2 separate regions of the Homo sapiens genome follow, and region 1 is linked to region 2. Evidence: promoter capture Hi-C in 16 types of primary human blood cells and fetal thymus (Javierre and others, 2016). All regions are on one chromosome and are shown on one strand. The core of a region is centred on a gene start or on the middle of the fragment in contact, and the rest is flanking DNA. Distances in the headings are between cores, read along the strand shown. Region 1 overlaps KATNIP (katanin interacting protein). Region 2 holds the start of NSMCE1 (NSE1 component of SMC5/6 complex).

What was found. Contacts are between HindIII fragments. The CHiCAGO score rates a contact against its expected background, and 5 or more counts as called.
Region 1: a fragment that was not itself captured here is called in contact with the fragment with the promoter of NSMCE1 in region 2 in 1 of 17 cell types (neutrophils); the score reaches 5.9 in neutrophils.

Annotation. Positions count from the first base shown.
Region 1 is chr16:27,551,515-27,554,296 of GRCh38, reverse strand. All of the region lies in intron 1 of KATNIP (katanin interacting protein), which reads right to left. Among named protein-coding and RNA genes, the nearest start is that of KATNIP, 2.8 kb to the right of the region's middle. The HindIII fragment of the contact is 4,528 bases long and covers 1-2,782 here.
Region 2 is chr16:27,267,459-27,270,158 of GRCh38, reverse strand. It overlaps NSMCE1 (NSE1 component of SMC5/6 complex), which reads left to right and starts at 1,387. Exons shown (of 8, transcript NM_145080.4): 1 at 1,387-1,453. It overlaps NSMCE1-DT (NSMCE1 divergent transcript), which reads right to left and starts at 1,954. Exons shown (of 5, transcript NR_037184.1): 1 at 1,915-1,954. RefSeq lists a silencer at 1,414-1,493. The HindIII fragment of the contact is 3,617 bases long and covers 189-2,700 here.

The sequences.
Region 1 (2,782 bases), core at 80-2,579, 280 kb before region 2:
GAGACAGGGTTTCACCATGTTGGCCAGGCTAGTCTCAAACTCCCGACCTCAGGTGATCGCCCACCTTGGCCTCTCAAAGTGCTGGGATTACAGGCGTGAGCCACCCCATCTGGCTGTGTTGACATTTGTACTTATGACACAAAGCAATGGTGGGTAAAACTGCTTGCAGTCTGAATCAAGGCAATGTTACCACAATGTACTAGAAACCTTCCCTCCTTCCTTCCTCCCTCCCTTCTTCCATCCCTCCCTTCTTTCCTCCTTCCTTTCTCTCTCCTCTCCCTCCCTTCTTTCCTTCCTTCCTTTCTCTCTCCTCTCTCCCCCCACCCCACCCCCTGCTCTCTCTCTCTCTAGACAAGGTCTTTTTGCCCAGGCTGGAGTGCAGTGGCACAGTCATGGCTCACTGTAGCCTCAACCTCCTAAGCTCAACTGATCCTGAGTGGCTGGGACTACAGGCACGAGCCACTATACCTGTCTAATTTTTTACTTTTTACAGAGATGGGGTCTCACTAAGTTGCCCAGGCTGGTCTTGACCTCCTGGGCTCAAGTGATCCCCACACCTCAGTCTCCTTAGCAGCTAGAACCACAGGTGCATGCTACCATGCCTGACTATTATTTATTTATTTATTTATTTTATTTATTTATTTAGTAGAGATGGAGTCTCACTATGTTGACGAAGCTGGTCTTGAATTTCTGGGCTGAAGAGATCCTCTTGTCTTGGCCTCCCAAAGCGGTGGGACTATAGGCGTGAGCCACTGAACCCAACCATCAGGACATTCTTAAATAAAAATAATTGTTTGTTTGTTTTAAATGTGAGTACATGGCAGTAAATAAAATAATAGACAAATTTTGGTTATTCAGTCTTGGGAATTTGGCAGAAATTTTCTCAAATATGAAATAAGTGAGTCTGTCACTTCAAGGAAACAGCTGACAATATTTGCTGCCAATGTTAAAATTCAAGCTGTCAAGTGAAAACAAGTTGAAAACTTGTTTCCATTACCTTGAGTTTGATAGTTTCCTAATACTTAAACTCCTTTTTAAAATGAAATAGGTGGTGATATTAACAAATGTGATTTTTTAAATACCGTATAATGGCATCTGAAAGGTCAACGTTTAGATTTGCATAACTCACTGAACCAACATTTTCTAAACGACCAATGGCTGATGTTATAAAACCATATATGGGTAAAGCAGCCAATGAAAGGGCAAGATAGACCAATGGATTTTAATGTAACACAGTATAAAAGTTCACCTATAAGGCTTCAGATGACACACTGTGACTAACATTTAAGAAACTGCCACTTGTGGCCTGGCATGGTTCTTCATGCCTGTAATCCCAGCACTTTGGGAGGCCAAGGCGGGCGGATCACCTGAGGTTGGCAGTTTGAGACCAGCCTGACCAACATAGAGAAACCCCATCTCTACTAAAAGTACAAAATTAGCTGAGCGTGGTGGCACATGCCTGTAATCCCAGCTACTTGGGAGGCTGAGGCAGGAGAATCGCTTGAACCCGGGAGGCGGAGGTTGCGGTGAGCCGAGATCAGGCCATTGCACTCCAGCCTGGGCAACGACGGCAAAACTCCCGTCTCAAAAAAAAAAAAAAAAAAAAAAAACTGCCACTTGCAGGCCAGGCATGGTGGCTCACGTCTGTAATCCCAGCACTTTGGGAAATGGAGGCAGGCTGATCACCTGAGGTCAGGAGTTTGCGACCAGCTGGCCAACATGGGGAAACCCCATGTCTACTAAAAATAAAAAAAATTAGCTGGGCATGGTGGTTCACACCTGTGATCCCAGCTACTCGGGAGGTTGAGGCAGGAGAATCGCTTGAACCCAGCAGGCAGAGGTTGCAGTGAGCTGAGATCGTGCCACTGCACTCCAGCCTGGGCGACAGTGAGACTTTTTCTCAAAAAAAAAAAAAAAAAGAAAAAAGAAACTGGCATTTGCTAAATTTTGTATAGTATGAAAGGAGAGTGTCTACAGTTATCTGAAAAGGCAATTAAAATGTTTCTCTCTGCTCCAATTATATATTTGTATGAGGCCAAATTTTCTTCATACACACCAGCCAAAACAGCATAACAAAAAACAGTTTGAATCCTGAAGCAGAAATGAGAGTAGTTTTTTCTATTTCTATTGAATAAACTTGAAAAAACATAAAATAATGCTACTCTTCCTATTAATTTTTTGGAGGCAAATGTAATTGTTTTCCATTAAAAATATTATTTATGTTCAGAAGTAATGGGTTTATTGTTGTTGGAGTTTTTTTGAGACAGGGTCTAGCTATGTTGCCCAGGCTGGTCTTGAACTCCTGAGCTCAAGCAATCCACCCACTTCAGCCTCCCAAACTGCTGGGATCACAGGTGTGAGGCACTGCACATGGCCAATTATTATTATGATTATTATGAGCCACTGCACCTGGCCAATTATTATTATTATTATTGGGTTTTTTTGAGACAGAGTCTCGCCCTGTTGCCCAGGCTGGAGTGCAGTGGCAAGATCTCGGCTTCAAATGATTCTCCTGCCTCAGCCTTCCAAGTAGCTGGGATTACAGACATGTGTCACCACGTCCGGCTAAGTTTTAGTAGAGACAAGGTTTCACCATGTTGGCCAGGCTGGTCTCGAACTCCTGACCTCAAGTGATCCACCTGCCTTGGCCTTCCAGAGTGCTAGGATTACAGGCACGAGTCCATGCCCGGCCCAATTTTTATTATTTTTAAAGGAACTAATTAATGGACATCTTAAGATTTTCCCAGTTTAAATCTTCGATATGGTAAATATCATAAATATA
Region 2 (2,700 bases), core at 138-2,637:
ATTTTTATTGTTGAACTGTTATTTTTTACTGTTTTCCCCCACAAATATTAACCACCCACAGTTGCTTCAATCCGTAGATGGGGAACCTGTAAACATGGACAGCTGACTGTACTTTGTCCTATGTCTCAGAGACACTGAGTTTAAGGCCCAGGATTCCATGTTGACCATCCAGCTCCAAAGCTGAAGCTTTTAATCACCACACACCACTGCTTTCCCACTTAGCAGATGAAACTGAAGCCCAGAGAGGTTAAGAGGTTGTCCAAGATCACAGGGGTGGTGAGTGACCAAGCCTGGATTTGATCTATCCTCACAGAGACAGATATTTGCAGGTACTGCTGTTCTATATTAGTTACCTGTTTCCCTTGCTAGGCTGCATCCCTAGCTCTCAGACCAGGGATAGAATTCAAACGTTTGGAAAATTAACGCCTTGAAGACTCAAAGCAGTCCATTCACTTCCACGAGTAATTTCACTTGCTTTCTCACAATCCCTAGGTAAGATAACAGTTAACATATAATCAGCACTCCCATGTGACACTTTTCAATGGCCATGCTAAGCACCTGATATAGGTGTTATTATCTCTTGTAAATCTCACCAACACTATTTTGCAAGAACTAATATCCTCATTTAATGGAAGAGGAAACTGAGGCTCAGTGACTTGCCCAAGCGCCTGCCAACTAGTAAGTGGCAGAGCCAGGATTCTAGATCAGGCTCTATGACCACAGAGTCCACATTTTTCTTTTCTTTTTTTTTGAGCTCTGTCACCCAGGCTCGAGTGCTGTGGTACGATCTGGCTCACTGCAACCTCTGCCTCTCGGGTTCAAGTGATTCTCCTGCCTCAGCCTCCCGGGTAGCTGGGATTACAGGCACACACCACCACGCCCGGCTACTTTTTGTATTTTTAGTAGGGACGGGGGTTTCACCATGTTGGCCAAGCTGGTCTCGAACTCCTGACCTCAAGTGATCGGCCCGCCTTGGTCTCCCAAAGTGCTGGGATTACTTACAGGCGTGAGCCACCGCGACCGGACCAGAGTCCACATTTTTGACGTCGAGGCCACACTCAGTTCCACAGATGGGGAAACTGAGGCCCGGGGCAGGGCACTACATTGTGCCAGCGGAATGGTGGCCATTGAGGGAAGCCCAGGCTGCACGCCAATTCTTCCTCCTTGGTCAGGGAAGTCACTGAGGTGCAGGAGGCGGAGGGCGACAAGTGGAAGCCCCTTCCCATTATTAAGGATCGAGAGCGGGCGTAATTTGGGATCTAACCCACGAGGCGGAACCACCAGGGCAATGGCGCAAACGGAGAACCGGAAGTGCGTCACTCAACGGACGGGCGAATAAGCCGCAGGCCACCAATGGGAACGCCGCGTTCGCGTTCGCCCCGCCTCAAAGGAAGAAGAGTCCACCTTGCGACCGTATCCGCTAGCGCGGCCTGGGATGCGCTTGGGCTCCCTGGTGGGTAACGTGGGGAGCTAGGGGTTGGAGGGGAAAGAAGAGGGACTTCAAGGAAGGCGAGGGGAGGACGGAAGGTGGGGTGGGCGAGACAGGCAGTGGGGTCCGGCCCCGGGGTCGGTCCCCGTGGGCTGTGGAACTCGGGGACTGGGGTCTTGGGGTTTCCCCCTTCTTGATGGGGAAACTGAGGCCCAGACAGGGGCCGCAGAAAACAGCGGACTGGGATGTCCTCCCGCAACACACACGCAGACATCTAAAAATCTTACTATTTAGTGAAAAATATTTTTAATCGTAATTACGATTTAACAGGTAAAGATACTTTTCATTGTAACAGGTGAAAAAGCAAAATATAAAATTCGATTCAAACTGTGATTACATCTATGGAAAATACAGCCTTTGCCGACCACCCTCTTTGTCCCGCCGCCCTCCGTGCTCCCCTCTGTTTTGTGTACGGAGTTTCTTACTTTGTACAAGTCCGCAGCCGCTTATGTTACAGCCCCGAGGCCAGATGCGTTTAAAATCGAGGAGTTCTCGGAGTTTGGAAAGGTAAAGTCCCTATGTTCTATGTTAGGTTTCACCCTCAGAGGGGGCTGGAGCAGCGGCTTGTAATCAAATACACGACCCTTTCCACAGCTAAAGTTATGAAGATACGCATATATTACATTGACCTGGTCGCGGTGGCCCACGGCTATAATTCCAGCACTTTGGGAAGCTGAGGGGGGCGGATCACCTGAGGTTCGGAGTTCGAAACCAGCCTGGCTAATATGGTGAAACCCTGTCTCTACTAAAAATACAAAAAATTAGCCGGGCGTGGTGGTGCGTGCCTGTAATCCCAGCTACTCGGGAGGCTGAGACGGAAGGCTGAGGCAGGAGAATCGCTTGAACCCGGGAGGCGGAGGTTGCAGTGAATCAAGATCGTGCCACTTCACTCCAGCTTGGGCAACAAGAGCGAAACTCCGTCTCAAAAAAAAAAATGCATATATTTACACTGTTGGGATAAATAACCATAAATAGCCTCACCTTAAGTCAGGTCAAGTTTTCCAACTTAAACAAGTTTTGGTATTCAGACTTTTTTTTTTTTTTCCCCTGCATCCGATCATCCACTAGTATTCATACCTTTTTAGATTTGAGGGTTGCAGATGAGGGACCTGGATTGTAGTTGTTCTGTTCACTCACTTTTCTCACTCTCGCTGGATAGAGAGTGTCCTTGAAAACAGGAACTGTGCTGTTGTATGGTCACGTCTATCTCT